Linked DNA regions of Homo sapiens: region 2 is linked to region 1. The links are contacts of gene promoters, found by promoter capture Hi-C in blood cells and fetal thymus (Javierre and others, 2016). All regions are on one chromosome and are shown on one strand. The core of a region is centred on a gene start or on the middle of the fragment in contact, and the rest is flanking DNA. Distances in the headings are between cores, read along the strand shown.

Region 1 (7,822 bases), core at 546-3,045:
TAGGAAGCCCAATAGATTTGAATATTACAGGATATTTGTATGAAATCTCTGGATCAAACAAGCAGAAGGCCAAAAGCAACTCCTGTATCAATGTCTGTATCAGTTAAAGTATTAGTGTGTGACCCAGACCCACACAGCACTTCATCTCCTCCATTCTTAGCATGTTTCTTCACCTATCTCTATAAACCCCTTGGGGTAAGAATTCTGCTCATAACAGATATCTGATATATTTGCACTGAAAATGCTTAGTCAAAACTCATTCTCTTTCCCACAAAGTAAACTCGTGAATTTTATAAAGTCACAGAATAGCTCTGTATTTTTTTTCACAACTACATGTAAATCTGTATTTATCTCAAAATAAAATCACCGAAATTGAATAAAACAACATGGGAAGCTCCCTTTTAGAGATGGGGGCCACCACCAGAGTGACAGAATCGCAGGGCCTTGGTTTCTCAGAACCGAAGGATGCTCCCCATCTCCCAACTCACCTTGCCGGCAGGAAATTTGCGGAGAAATTCAGGGGTGCGGTTGGTTTGGCCAAAATGGAAGTGGGGTGGTGCGGAGAGCACGCGGACCTGAGCCCCGCTGTACTGAGCAGCGATGAGAGCCTTGAAGGCCCTCCAGTTTTCAGGATACGTGTACAGGGTCTATGGGAGAAAGAGAGGGACAAAATTAATGAGTAGAAGGGTCCCAGTCCTTAATGCCACTCTCCAGGATGACTTTCCTGAATAATCCCAATGTATTCAACTCACCCTTTTACTTCCTCTGGTGAACCAAGTCCTTTAGTACTTGTCATATGTAATCAGAATCCTCCGAAATACCAAGAACAGAACTACACACCAACTGCTAAATAAAGCTTGTTGACAGATTTGACCTTCCCTAAGGACACCTCTGGAAGTATTCTCTTCCTCTCAAATCTATCTCCAAGAAATCCAGAACTTCTAGCTCCATCAGACTCCATCTGCCTACAAACATACTCTCCTCCCTTCCCGGAGCCCTCGCTTCATTCATTGATGGTTCCGAGCGCCTGCCTACTCTACTGCTCAGCTGCTCACCGCTTCAAAAGCATCGTCCTGTCTCTAAGGCACGCACGACGATCGAGAGATTTCTAGTTCCCCTCAGACTAGCCAGAGATAGGGGATGGCATGCCGTCTTCTTAAATCAACTCCTCTCTCTCAAAAAGCCTTTCTTTCCGTGTCGCGAATATCATCCCTCCGGTCCTGTCCCGCAGCGAGTTCCCCGGCGTTGGGCTTCTCTATTATGCCGGCCAGCGGAGTCCAATTGGTCTGACTTCACTGTCCGGAGAATCCTCTCGCTCCCAAACCTCCCTGAGAGACGACCTTTAACCGTGCCAGCCGGACCTGCCTACAAAGACCCTCCTCTTCAACCTGTCCCCTGTGTTACTCCACAAAACGGACACAGAAGTTCGTCAACCTGCCCAGATACCACGCCTCAAAGCGGCAACAGAGCCGAACCCCTTTCTCAGGCTTCGGACGGCCCAGACCCGGCATCTCTTTTCTCCTCTTCCCCAGACCCTTCCACCTCTGGCCTCCGAGAGCCCCAGCCTCAGTTCCCCTCCAGGCCCTAGGAACCCTACTCTCCAGCAGTACAGTCTGTAGACCCCCGAATCAGTTCCCCACTCAACCTCAGAACTCCTCTGGCGCCGACTGGCCCCACTCGGGCAAAGGATGGCGGTGGATAGGATGACCCGAACCACCAGAGCCAGCAAACTTACCCCAGCCGCCATGGTGATTCCGCAAAGAAAGGGGGTGGGGTTCTCGGCGCTGCCGCAAAGTAAGCCGCCCGGGAGAGAAGGGAGGGGGAAAGAGGAGAGCCGTGGAGAAACAGCAGCCGGAAAGCGAGGACGAAACAGAAGACATACGTACGACAGTTCGGTATCCAGTGGCGCTGAATTGGAAAAAGAACTGGGTGGGTGGGGCCTGCTGGCCAGCGCGGAAAAAGCTCGGGCCTGCGCATTGGAGCTCTTGACTGGCCCGCCCCCCAGGTGCAGCGGGCCAATCGGAGTCTAGACGTGGAGGTAGACAGCGTGGAGGGCGGGGAAGTTGTGAGAACCCGCTGGAAAAGCCGCGAGTTCTTGGCTACGTGGCGCGGTTGTTGGCCCGGCGCGGCCAGTGCTACTGGGGGCGTCCCTCTCTGGCCCTCCCAGGGACAAGTGACTTGATGGTAGATTTTGCCAAGCCCCTCACATGATTCTATGAAACTCATGGGAGCGAGGAACAGCTGCTGCGCGGAGGTGGCAGTGTGTGTGCTAAATCCCTTTAGTTCCTGCTCTGCTTTTCCTCCAGAAAGGGATGAGCGTCTAACAGGGGCCCCGGTCTGAACCCGCCTGCCAAAGTGAGGTTTGCTCACATCCAACCCCTGACAGCTCCAGGGTGCTGTTACTGCGAGCAGGGCACCGGCCCTCCGGCCCGAAGCAGGGCAGGGACATGAGGGAGAACGCGCCCTGTCCCTCCCACCTCCTCCGGACTCGGCCCCTGGAGGGGCTGACGCTGGAAGACCTGACATCGTCGCTTCTGATGTTCATGGCTTTTGACCCATGTTCAGGTTTGAAATCTCTTACCCAGTTTAAGAACGGGATGAACTCTCCTCGTTTAAAGGAGAGAATGAAGAACGCTGAACGCAAATCTCCGTCCTTGTGCGCATAAATCTGAGGCGACAGGAAGAATGTGGAGGCAAACCTGGCTCTTCTCAGTACTGCTGGAGCCACCCACCGCTCTGCCATTCAGGAACTCTGCGCGGGTGCCAGGTGCCACGCGCGGTGCTGCCCCCGCACTCCCCTCGAGCTGTGCGAACTGTAGGAAGGAGAAGCTGGTGGGGTGGAGAGCAACAGGGAGAGACCCATGTTCGGGGTCAGACGGGAGCAGCTGCAGGAAGTTCTGGGGGAGGGGAAGGGGGATTATGACCAGATGGAAATGAAAGGAAACGGGAGACTGTATTAATAAACTAGCAGCTTTATTGCCCTTCAGGGGCCATGTCTTCACTTGAGATGTCGAATTGCTTGAGGGAGGAAAACCTGTAAGAAATGATGGAGATCAGGGAACAGGCCTTGGGGATCCTGGAGCGGGGTCACAGTGAGCATTCGGTCAGCCGGGGAGACAGACGCCACAAAGCTCAGCAGGGGCTCAGTTTCTGGCCTCTCTTCGCCACCACTCAGTCCTTTCAGCTCCTGGGTGACCTGAGCCTCAGTCGCCAGCCACCCTGCTCTTGTGCCAGCGCCACCTCCAGCTCCCTCCTTGGTTTGCTGCTGCAAGCGTCTACGGGCTCGCCGCCGCCCTTGCCACACTCGGTGCCACAAGGCACAGCGCCAGCTCGCTGAGGAGGGCAGGGATGCCCCCTTCCCTGCCTCACCCTGAGACCATTCTTGGGCTGCCTCATGTCCCTTGGGCCCCCGCTCTGCCAGGGCTGCGTGGCTGGGCTGCCCCTCTTCTCCAGGGGCTCCATGCTTTCCAGTGGTCAGGGGCAGGTCCCCTGGCTGCCCAGGGCTCTGCATGGCCCAGTCCTGCACCATCTCTCCAACCTCTATAACCATCTCTTCTACCCTGTCTTCCCCACCGTCCCCTGCACATCCCTGCTGCTCCTCTTTCCCCTCCTCACAGCAGTTTTTCTGTCCATCTACTTTGAGTCTTTTGCTTGTCCCTCCCTGAGAGGACTCCCCAGTTCCACCTCCTTCTGACCGCGTTCTCTTGGTTGCCTGTTCTATATGGCACCCCAGTGCTTCCCTGAATACCTGCACCAGGGCAGCAGTGAGCTGGGTGAAGGGTGCAAGGGGTAAAGGGATCGGCGTAGCAGAGAGCAGGGAGCTGGGGGAGCTGGGCTGCAGAAGAGGGAGCAGCCCCCAGTCCCGACCCCGGGAGGAACGGCGCTGGTACTGGAGGCTTCGGCAGTAATTGGCTGCTGCTCGGCAGCAGTTCTGTAGGCGCCCAGCCACCCGGCTGGTCACATTGGCTGCGACATTGTGACTCAGGTCAAAAGGGTCCTGGAGATTCAGGGGGCCAAGGCGCAGACCCTCCCAGAGATTAGAAGGCAGGCCCCCTGCCACAGGCAGTGCCTGACCCTCCCGCAGGGACAGCAGGGAGCCACGAAGATCCCAACAAGATACACAGGAGAAGAACTGGGCTAGCAGGGAACCTGGAGGAGGAGGAAGAGTGGGGAAAGGGGGGTCACTTAGAGGCCAGAACTGATACAGGTCCTGCACCAGAGCCATTTCCTTAGCAGGACTTTTTCCCTTCCAAGGGGCTCAGCAGAGTCCCAGGAAGCTAGGCTTCTCTGATCCCTATAAACAAGAGGTCAAACCTCTCTCCCTGCCCCCACATGATGTCCTTGCCCAGATGCTGCTGCTCCTTGCTAGCCAGTGTAACCTTGGGCAAGTCACTTAATTGCTCCCAAACATGGTTTCTTCATCTGTAAAATGGCAGTAATAATATTAGGTATCTCACAGGCTTTCTGTGAGAACCATGCCTGGCACACAGTTAGTGTGATATATGTTACCTACTGTTGATGAACATCATTACTAGTCCTCTACCAGGCTCCCCAAACTCACTGAGGGGCTCCACATTTATGCTGGGCTCCAGTCTTGAGGCATCCCTGGGGAAACTGCAGTCCCAGCCATCGACTTCCACCTGTTCCCCCTCTCCTGTGAAAGTAAATAAGGTGAGAGTCAGTCTGGAAGCAAGGAGATTGAGGGTGGGGGTAGAGAGATCTCATTCACAGAGCTGCTTGGTGTATCTAAGTGTGATGAAGAAGAGAGAGGAAACTAACAAGATGGAGAGGGTGGAGGCTAGGCCGAGTACCTGCTTTCTGGGTGAGCTGGGACACAGTGGGCAACACAGGAGGGTCCCTGGTCTGAAGAAAATAGATCACCAGCAAGGTCAGGGCGTAGTTACTGAGAAGGGGGCCACTCCCTGGGTAAATAAGCAATAATTCCGGTTAGATCAGAGGTGCTTCTAATCCCCTCACTGGCAGTTTTCTCAACCCCGGTGCCCATTCTGACCTCCCTTCTCTCCCTGAATCCCTGCCTTTGTCCTGAGACCAACTCAGCCCCAAGTCTGTCCTGATCCATTCTCACCTGACAGCCCCCGACCCTGAGCCCAGCAGCGGAGGGTGTACACGAGGGGCCGGACTCGACCATCCAGCTCAGAGCAGAGACTCAGGAAACGGGAGTTATGCAGGGCCAGCCTGGGACAAAGCAGGGACAAGGGTGTTAGCGCTTGGGGATGTCAGAACCTACCACCCCCAGCTTTCATTCCAGACTTGCATAACTGGAGCCAGCTGGAATAAGGCCAGAACAGTTTCCCCAAATGTTGCTCACTGATCTTGTGAGACAGTGTGCGAAAGGACAAAGGAGTTCGGGAAACACTTCATCCTGTACGCCCATCCTGGACATTCACAGCACATTATTATAAGACTGTTCATGAGCCATGGTCACACCACTGCACTCCAGCCTGGGTGACAGAGCAACATCCCATGTCAGAAAAAAAAAAAAAAAGACTGCCCAGAGCCTTTACTATGCAAAGAAACAAAGACAGGAAAAGAGAGAGGAAGGAAGGAAAGGAGAGAGGGCAAGGGGCGAAGGGAGGAAATGGAGAAACCTTTTTGCATCTAACTTTGAATTTCCCAAATTTATTCAACGCAGAGCTCTTTTCTACATCCCTTGAAAGTAGTATTCTAGGGCGCGGTGCCTCACGCCTGTAATCCCAGCACTTTGGGAGGCCGAGGCGGGCAGATCACCTGAGGTCAGGAGTTCGAGATCAGCCTGGGCAACACAGCGAAATCCCATCTCTACTAAAAATACAAAATTAGCTGGGTGTGGTGGCACATGCCTGTAATCCCAGCTACTCGGGAGGCTGAGGCAGGAGAATCGCTTGAACCTGGGAGGCAGAGGATCCAGTGAGCTGAGATCGCACCATTGCACTCCAGCCTGGGCAACAAGAGTAAATCTCCGTCTCACAAAAAAAAAAAAAAAAAAAAAAAAGTAGTATTCTAAGGAACACACTTTACAAACACTGAAATGGAAGCCAGGCAGGAGGAGATAAGGGACAGAAAGAGGGATGGTCCCAAACAAGGACAAACTTGAGACTTGGCAGGTGCAGGAGTTTCCCAAGCCAGACTCTCCTGGCCCATCCCAGAATTCTCAGCTGGCCTGCCCCAAAGAAAGGTATGGTGCCTCACGCCTGTAGTCCCCGCACTTTGGGAGGCCGAGGCAGGTGATCACCTGAGGTCGGGAGTTCAAGACCAGCCTGACCAACATGGAGAAACCCCGTCTCTACTAAAAATACAAAATTAGCCAGGCGTGGTGGCGCATGCCTGTAATCCCAGCTACTTGGGAGGCTGAGGCAGGAGAATCACTTCAACCTGGGAGGCAGAGGTTGCAGAGAGCCAAGATGGCACCACTGTACTCCAGCCTGGGCAACGAGTGAAATGTCGTCTCAAAAAAAAGAAAGGTACCGGTTACTGAGGGAGACATCACCGTGGAGACCTGAAGGCCGATGACAGAACTTGACCACAGGGCGCCGGGCAGAGGGCACAGTTTGGACTCGATACACCCCAGGGACACAGCCCCGGAGAATGGATCCCACCAGCTCCAGCATTGCTGCCCCCTCTGCTTTCTCCTCCTTTGGGGTCTCTGCTAGTTCCGAGGCCTTCCCCAGGTCCCCCTCTTCCCTGTCCTCTAGCAGTGGTGAAGCTGGAGGCAGAGACTGGGGAGAAGCAAGGGTCTCGGAGGCCAAGGCAGAGTCCGGAGTTTGGGGCGCCAGGGAGGAGGAAGGGGTTTCAAAGTCCAGGGCTTCAGAATCCTGGGGAGAAGCAGGAGGTTGTGAATCTGGAGGGGAAGCTGGGGTGCAGGCCAGGGCTTGAGGGTCCAGTGGGGAAGCCAGGGCCGAGTCCAGCGATGGAGATTCTGGAGCCTTTGGGACTGGCTGTGGACAGAAATGAACTGAGTGAAATGTTTCTGCTGTTCCCTAAGCAGGGATCTCTCAAGATAATATTACTTCCAGCTTATTCAGCTCTATTCTAAGGTCTTTATACATATTAACTCATTTAATCTTCACAGGAACCCTTTTTTTTTTTAAAGATAACCTTTTAATTCTATAAAATAAAAGGTCTACCTCTGCAAAAAATGTCATTGTCGTGAAAGACAAAAACAGAGGAACTATTACAGACGAAAGAGAAACTGTAACAGTCCATTGACAGGACAGCTGACCAAATTAGAGTATGGACTGTAAAGTCTGTAAAGGTTTACATCTGTGTCAATGTAACATTTCCTCAACTTGATAATGGTACTGTGGTTATACACTAGAATACCTTTACACTAGAATACCTTTGTTCTTGCATAACACACATTGAAGTATTGAGGGGTAAAGGAATGTGATACATGCAACCTTCTCTCAGATGATTCAGAAAATATAAATAGAGAGTGTGTGTGTGTAGAGAAAGATAAAAATAATGATAAAACATTTTAAAACTCCTGTTGCGGGGGCAGCAGGCATATAGAAACTACTTTCTGCTCACTTTTGCTGTGAATCTAACACTGCTCTAAAAAATAAAGTCCATTTTTTTTTTTTTTTTTTTGAGATGGAGTCTCAATCTGTCATCCAGGCTGGAGTGCAGTGGCGCGATCTCGGCTCACTGCAACCTCCGCCTCCTGGGTTCAAGCTGTCTCTCCTGCCTCAGCCTCCTGAGTAGCTGGGATTACAGGTACGTGCCACCATACCCGGCTGATTTTTGTATTTTTAGTAGAGACAGCATTTCACCATGTTGGCCAGGCTGGTCTCAAACTCCTGACCTCAGGTGATCCACCTGCCTT
Region 2 (7,822 bases), core at 28-2,527, 98 kb after region 1:
CTCTTTGGCAGGAGCTGTTTTAATTGCTTTACATATAACTAATTTAATTATCCTAAAACTGTGAGACAAGTACTGTTGTTATAAGCTTCATTTTCTGATGCAGAAACCGGGGCACAAGAACTTGCCTATAATCAGTCACACAGCTAAGAGGTGTTTTCTTCTGTAAAGCAGAATTCAGTATGTTACACGAATCCAGCCTTTTAGTGGTTGAAAACAAAGCAAAACAGCCGGGCGCGGTGGCTCACACCTGTAATCCCAGCACTTTGGGAGGCCGAGGTGGGCGGATTGGGCGGATCACGAGGTCAGGAGTTCGAGACCAGCCTGACCTACATAGTGAAACTCTTTCTCTACTAAAAATACAAAAAATTAGCCGGCCGTGGTGGCGGGCGCCTGTAGTCCCAGCTACTCGGGAGGCTGAGGCAGGAGAATGGCGTGAACCCGGGAGGCAGAGCTTGCAGTGAGCCGAGATCACGCCACTGCACTCCAGCTGGGCAACAGAGTGAGACTCTGTCTCAAAAAGCAAAAAAGAAAACGAAGCAAAACAAAAAGCAATACCAGCCGGGCGTGGTGGTGCACGCCTGTAATCCCAGCTATCCGGGAGGTTGAGGCAGGAGGATCGCTTGGGCCCTGGAAGTCGAGGCTTCAGTGAGCCATGATCGCGCCACTGCACTCCAGCCCTGGGCGACAGAGCGAGACCTTGTCTCCAAAAACAAACAAAACCACGCCCACACACTAACAACAACAACAAAACCAAAAAAAAACCCAAACAATACCAAGTGTGTACCATGACGAGAAAAGGAATAGGTTGTTTGTAAAATAAATGTTAAAGATAAGTAACTATTACCCATTTCTCCAACCAGTATACTTGACTTTGAGTGTTTGTTCCAGAGTTGAGGGGATGGAGAGGGATGTGTATGTGTGTAGATGCCCTCCATGCGCTGTGTTGAAAACGCGCGGGTGACTGCAGGAAACCACAGAGCACAGCTCGGGCCTCTACTGATCGGGAAACGTCGGAAGACAGAAAAATGGGCAATCATAAAACCCACGGCAACCATGAAGACACGCACTCTCCCCCTAGCAATCCCACCCCGGAATTGAGGACACAGGGTCCCCGCGCTCAGCCCTTGGTGCCAGCACTTCTTGGACACCTCAACCCCCTCAGCTAAACCTGAGATCCAAGCGCTCCGGATTCCAAACGTTTCCTCGAGCAGGTCCTCTCTAGCCGGCCGCTTATCTATGGTTTCTGCTATAGGGCGCTCTAGCCTGCGCCAAGGGGTAGTGAGACCGCGCGGCAACAGCTTGCGGCTGCGGGGAGCTCCCGTGGGCGCTCCGCTGGCTGTGCAGGCGGCCATGGATTCCTTGCGGAAAATGCTGATCTCAGTCGCAATGCTGGGCGCAGGGGCTGGCGTGGGCTACGCGCTCCTCGTTATCGTGACCCCGGGAGAGCGGCGGAAGCAGGAAATGCTAAAGGTAGAAGCAACTGGTAGTCCCGAGGAAGGGTGGGCGGGTGGAGAGCCCCGGACTGGAGCTCCTGCGAACTCCCCTTCCTGCCCTCAGGAGATGCCACTGCAGGACCCAAGGAGCAGGGAGGAGGCGGCCAGGACCCAGCAGCTATTGCTGGCCACTCTGCAGGAGGCAGCGACCACGCAGGAGAACGTGGCCTGGAGGAAGAACTGGATGGTTGGCGGCGAAGGCGGCGCCGGCGGGAGGTCACCGTGAGACCGGACTTGCCTCCGTGGGCGCCGGACCTTGGCTTGGGCGCAGGAATCCGAGGCAGCCTTTCTCCTTCGTGGGCCCAGCGGAGAGTCCGGACCGAGATACCATGCCAGGACTCTCCGGGGTCCTGTGAGCTGCCGTCGGGTGAGCACGTTTCCCCCAAACCCTGGACTGACTGCTTTAAGGTCCGCAAGGCGGGCCAGGGCCGAGACGCGAGTCGGATGTGGTGAACTGAAAGAACCAATAAAATCATGTTCCTCCACCCAGAATGAGCCCTGCAGTCGACACCTACCAATGCTTAGAGACGCGTGGTCGGTGCTGGGGGCGCGGCCTGGAGCTGCTGCCTGTCCCACCCCACCAGAAGAGGCTGATCCCGATAGGTATCTGACCACATTTTTTTTTTTTTTTTTTTTTTGAGACGGAGTCAATGTCACCCAGGCTGGAGTGCAGTGGCACGATCTCGGCTCACTGCAACCTCCGCCCCTGGGTTCCAGCAATTCTCCTGCCTCAGCTTCCCGAGTAGCCGGGATCACAAGTGCGCGCCACCAAGCCCAGCTAACTTTTGTGTTTTTAGTTGAGACAGGGTTCACCATGTTGGCTAGACTGGTCTCGAACTCCAGACCCAGGTGATCCGCCCGCCTCGGCCTCCCAAAGGGCTGGGATTACAGGCGTGAACCACCTCGCCCTGCCGCGGCCACATTTTTTCTTTTTTTTGAGATGGAGTCTTGCTCTTGTCACCCAGGCAGGAGTGCAGTGGCGCAATCTTGGCTCACTGCAACCTCTGCCTCCTGGGTTCAAGCTGTTCTCCTTACTCAGCCTCCCATGTAGCTGGGATTACAGGCGTCCGCAACCACGCCCGGCTGATATTAGTAGTTTTAGTAGAGGCGGGTTTCACCATGTGGCCAGGCTGATCTCGAACTCCTGACCTCAGGCAGTTCACCCGTCTCAGCCTCCCAAAGTGCTGGGATTAGAGGCGTGAGCCACTGCGCCCGGCCAACCACATTTTCAAAACAGGTCATGTGGTGTCAGGTTGGAGTGTACTTCCAGGGATAACCGTGGGACATTCTTGAAATCTGAACTATCCTGGGAAGTCTTGAAGTAATGGATGCCTATAGTGGACACTCAGGACTCCTGTCCTTGGAGCGAGATTGGAGGGGCATCTAGCACTTAACATATGCCACAATGCTTTCTGTGGCCATTATTTAACCTCTGGTTAAACAAGCTTAGGAGGCTGACTTACTAGTAGTAAAAGGAGTGTGCTTTGAGTCACAGATCCTGGTTGAACTCCAGCATGTTACAAACCTCAGCCCTGTTCTATGAAAGGTCATAACTACGAGGATTATTGTAAAACATTAATTTAGAAATGTAAAGTGGTCCCCAATCTCTGGATCTGGTCAGGATTTATTGGAGCTGCCACTGAGGGGATTAAATAAGTGGGGTCAAAGCCCCACAGCCTAGTCAACCAAGTTGCTCCTCTTTTGTCTATCCTGTGGTTCCCAAGCAAGACTGCAATTGAAAAAAAGGCTGCTGTTATTAAAGTCAGAACACCAAATAAAGCTTTTTTTTTTTTTTTGAGACAGAATTTCTGTGTTGTTGCCCACGCTGGAGTGCAATGGAGCGATCTCAACTCAATGCAACCTCCGCCTCCTGGGTTCAAGCGATTCTCCTGCCTCAGCCTCTCCAGTAGCTGGGACTACAGGGGTGCGCCACTATGCCAGGATAATCTTTGTATTTTTAGTAGATACAGGGTTTCACCATGTTGGCCAGGCTGGTCTTGAACTCCTGACCTCAGGTGATCTGCCCGCCTCAACCTCCCAAAGTGCTGGGATTACAAGCATGACCCGCCGTGCCTGGCCCAAATAAAGCTTTCTAACACTGGGGTGTAAACCCAGATATAAGTATTGGTGCTCTTTTCAGCTGCTGGAACACATGTTACATGTGATCTTTACAGAGTAACTGTGGCCTTTCTCCTAGTCCAGGAAGGAGTGGAGTCAGGAGCAGTTTGACAGGACAGCAGGGTGGGGTGATCAGCAGCCAGAGGGACTATCATAGATAAGCTCATCAGTGCTTCTTGGTTGGTTTTAAAAAGCAGAGAGAAGCGCCAACATGGTGAGACCCTGTATCTACTAAAAATACAAAAATTAGCTGGGCATGGCGGCACGTGCCTGTGGTCCCAGCTACTCGGGAGGCTGAGGCAGGAGAATCGCTTGAACTCAGGAGGCAGAGGTTACGGTGAGCCGAGATCGTGCCACTGCACTCCAGCCTGGGTAACAGAGTGAGGAGATGTCTCAAAAAAAAAAAACAAAAAAACAAAACCCTTTTAGCCCAGCATTTTGGGAGGCTGAGACAGGTGGATCTTGAGGTCAGGAGTTCAAGACCAGCCTGGCCAACATGGTGAAACCCCATCTCTACTAAAAAATACAAAGAATTAGCTGGGTGTGGTGGCACACACCTGCAATCCCAGCTACTCGAGAGGCTGAGGCAGAATTGCTTGAACCCGGCAGACGTTGGTTATAATGAGCCGAGATTGCACCACTGTACTACAGCCTGGGATCTAGAGCAAGACTCCACCTCAAATAAGTAAATAAAATTATCCTTTTAGTAGCTAATGCTTACTGGGGACTTATTAGGTACCAGGCACTATGCTAAAGCATCTTATACCAGCATTATGTAACCCTCATGACAATCCCAAGAAATAGGCACTATTCCTATTCTATTAAGAAGCTAGGTTTTCTGGGTGAGATGTGAAATAACTTAAATGACATCACTAAGGTAGCAAAGCTGAAGGAAAAGTATAAGAAGGATGTTCCTGACTATAAGTAGAAAGGTTGGTTTGATGATGCAAAGGGTCCTGCTAAAGTTGCCTGGAAAAAGGTGGAAGAGGAAGATGAAGAGGAGGAGGATGAATAAAGAAACTGTTTATCTGGCCAGGCACAGTGGCTCAAGACTGTAATCCCAGCACTTTGGGAGGCAGAGGCGGGCGGATCATCTGAGGTCAGGAGTTCAAGACCAACCTGACCAACAAGGTGAAACCCTGTCTCTTAAAAAAAAAAAAAAAAAAAAATTAGCTGGGCGTGGTGGTGCATGCCTGTAACCCCACCTACTCAGGAGGCTAAGGCAGGAGAATCGCTTGAACCCGGGAGGTGGAGGTTGCAGTGAGCTGAGATCGCTCCATTGCACTCCAGCCTGGGCAACAAAAGCAAAACTCCATCTCAAAGGAAAAAAAAAAAGAAACTGTTTATCTGCCTCCTTGTGAGTACCTTAAGAGTAGGGGAGCCCCGTAATGGACACATCTCTTATTTGAGAAGTGCCTGTTGTCCTCATTAGGTTTAATTACAAAATTTGATCATGATATTGTATAGTCTCTCAAAGTACTCTAAAAATTGTCAGTGGTGGCCGGGCGTGGTGGCTCACGCCTGTAATCCTAGCACTTTGGGAGGCCGAGGCGGGTGGATCACTTGAGGTCAGGAGTTTGAAACCAGCTTGGCCATCATGGTGAAACGCTGACTCTACTAAAAATACAAAAAATTAGCTGGGCATGGTGGTGCGCGCCTGTAATCCCAGATACTTGGGAGGCTGAGGCAGAAGAATCCCGTGAACTCAGGAGGCGGAGGTTGCAGTGAGCCAATACTGTGCCACTGCACTCCAGCTTGGGTGACAGAGCAAGACTCCATTTCAAAAAAAAAAAAAAAAAAGAAATTCTCAGTGGTTTACATGAAGTGGCCATGGGTGTCTGGAGCACCCCAAAGCTGTATCAAAGTTGTGCATATTTCCAAACATTTTTAAAATGAAAAGGCACTCTCATGTTCTCAATAAATAAATAAATAAATAAATAAATAAAGCAGCAGGCCGGGCGTGGTGGCTCATGCCTGTAATCCCAGCACTTTGGGAGGCCAAGGCAGGCGAATCACAAGGTCAGGAGTTTGAGACCAGCCTAGCCAACATGGCAAAACCCCGTCTCTACTAAAAATGGAAAAAATTAGCTGGGCGTGGTGGTGGGTGCCTGTAATCCCAGCTACTAGGGAGGCTGAGGCAGGAGAATCGCTTGAACCTGGGAGGCAGAGGTTGCAGTGAGCTGAGATTGCGCCACTGCACTCTAGCCCAGGCAACAGTGCAAGACTCCGTCTCAAAAATAAAAATAAAAAAGCAGCAGCTGGGCTTTTATTTTCTGTCTTACCATAGGAGTAAAAGGTGCCATCCAATGTACTCTCCACCCCTTTTAGCACCTCTCCTCCGCAACTTCCCCAGCAGTTAATCAGACCCAGAGATTACAAACAAGTGTCTTTGTTGGAAACTAAAGATGAGGAAGAGGGTCTACTGTTCCGTTTTAGCCTCTTCCTCTGCCTTAGTTTTGTCCCTCCCAGCCATTCAGGAAGGAGTCAGGCATGTACAGAACTCAGGGTCTATTTATTAGGAAGGAGATGTCAGTGCTTTATCAAAGATGAAGGGGTCACAGAGGGACAATGGGACAAAGGCCCTCAGCTGGGACATTTCTTGGCCACAATGAGAACAGCAGAAGGCACGAGTCCTGAAGATGGAAGAAAACAGGCTTGAACCACAAGGATACTTGGTTTTTGCTCCCAAAATTCCTGGCCTTGCACCATGTTCACAAAGCCCCTTCTCTTTGCATCCCTCCTTTTCCTAGGCATGCCTCCCTACTCCCCCAGTTTCTAGTCCTGGTTTCTAGTCTTGCAGCCATACCCAGCTCCTGCAGAGGCCGCTCCATGTCAGCTTCTGAGAAGGCCCGTCTGGGGAAGCCACTGAGCAATTGCACAGGGTCCTGGCCCCCACCTAGTTCCTCCCCACGGTGGAGCTCCACATAGAGCCTCACAGCTGCCAGCTGTTCCCGGGCCCGGAACGTCTGGGTCAGTGAGGTCCCATCTGGCAGCCTGACCTAAAGGGCAAGGGAGATACTCAGTATTGTGGGCATCAAAACTGAATGAGGTGCCCAAGTAAGGAAAAGAGCTAAAGCTGGGCCCCCTTCTTCTTAGATTGAACCAGCACAACTACTATTTAAAGCACCAAATGAACAGCCACTTAGGCTCCGCTTTACTAAGTGCGGATGAGAGACTCCCAGCTCCCTCACAACCTAAGAAAGACAAGGATAAGATTATACAAAAGAATCTGGATAAATACCACATCACCAGATAGCTACATAATAAACCAAATAAAAACATGAACAAGTAAAAGGGTAACTGCTGAGTAAGAGAGAGGTATGGGTTTAAATACAACTGGGGCAGGTGAAATTTGATACCTTTCCCAAGAGTAGAGATAGGATTTCAAAAGTCATTTACAAAGAAGGGAGAGATTTGGCAAAGGGCACGTTAACTGAAAAAAGCTCTGAGCTGGGCACCTTAACACGGAACAAAGGGGTCCCAAGAGGAAGATAAGAATTAGAATCAGTACCTGTATGCGACACTGGTCATACTCCCGCTTGGTGGGAGGCTCCTGGCTGGGAGAAGAGGGAACAGGACCTGGCTCTGGTGCCACTGGGGGTGGCTGAGAGCCCACACTGCCACCATACTAAAGGGCAAAGTAAAACAGTCAATCAGGTACTCACCCATCCTCAGGTGAAACAGATCATATAAGCCCATGCTTTCCCTCTGAAGCTGGAAAAGATTTACTAACCTGCCCACTCCATTACCCGTGGCGTCTTCTCAGTCACCTACCTTCTTGGCTCTCTCTGCTTTGTCCCTCTCGATCTTTTCTCTAACTCTTTGTCTGAAATGTAGACAAGAAGAAATTAGGTCAGACATCAACAAAGCAAATCTTGATTTCTTTCTCATCTGCTATCCATCATTTCCCCTGCCCAGACCTGGCTGCTAACTCCTCGGCCTTTTCCCTCCGCCTCTCCTCAGCAGCCCGGCGCATCTCATCTTCCTGTAGCCGCTGTCGTGCTGCTGACAACTCTTGCCCTTGTCTCCTGCGCTGCCGTTCCCGTTCCAATGCCTCCCGTTCCTCTCTTTCTTCACGCTCCCGCTGCTTCTGGGCCACCAGCTCCAACATCCTGTGTTGCCGAGGGAAAACAGTTCAAGAGAAATGGACAGAGTGGGAAGGTGTAAAGTTTACAATAAACAAAATTAGGCGACATATATCCCAAAGTAGA

What was found. The method cuts DNA at HindIII sites, captures the fragments that hold promoters and counts their contacts. A CHiCAGO score of 5 or more calls a contact.
Region 2: a contact is called between the fragment with the promoter of UQCC3 here and the fragment with the promoter of EEF1G in region 1, in 11 of 17 cell types (total B cells, activated CD4 T cells, total CD8 T cells and 8 more). The highest score is 10.7, in total B cells.

Annotation. Positions count from the first base shown.
Region 1 is chr11:62,572,096-62,579,917 of GRCh38, forward strand. It overlaps EEF1G (eukaryotic translation elongation factor 1 gamma), which reads right to left and starts at 1,796. Exons shown (of 10, transcript NM_001404.5): 1 at 1,736-1,796; 2 at 489-647. The coding sequence starts at 1,747. It overlaps TUT1 (terminal uridylyl transferase 1, U6 snRNA-specific), which reads right to left. Exons shown (of 9, transcript NM_022830.3): 5 at 6,466-6,935; 6 at 5,087-5,196; 7 at 4,812-4,922; 8 at 4,562-4,654; 9 at 2,957-4,149. The coding sequence ends at 2,999. RefSeq lists enhancers at 1,765-1,964, 1,920-2,881, 2,665-2,724, 2,882-3,843. The HindIII fragment of the contact is 8,528 bases long and covers 855-7,822 here.
Region 2 is chr11:62,670,396-62,678,217 of GRCh38, forward strand. It overlaps UQCC3 (ubiquinol-cytochrome c reductase complex assembly factor 3), which reads left to right and starts at 1,278. Exons shown (of 2, transcript NM_001085372.3): 1 at 1,278-1,470; 2 at 1,558-3,291. The coding sequence starts at 1,351. The coding sequence ends at 1,719. It overlaps LBHD1 (LBH domain containing 1), which reads right to left and starts at 1,872. Exons shown (of 7, transcript NM_024099.5): 1 at 1,169-1,872. It overlaps UBXN1 (UBX domain protein 1), which reads right to left. Exons shown (of 9, transcript NM_001286077.2): 5 at 7,532-7,723; 6 at 7,386-7,437; 7 at 7,123-7,239; 8 at 6,418-6,610; 9 at 6,105-6,244. The coding sequence ends at 6,195. RefSeq lists enhancers at 1-703, 704-1,443, 1,444-2,185, 1,552-1,711 and a silencer at 1,952-2,081. The HindIII fragment of the contact is 2,853 bases long and covers 84-2,936 here.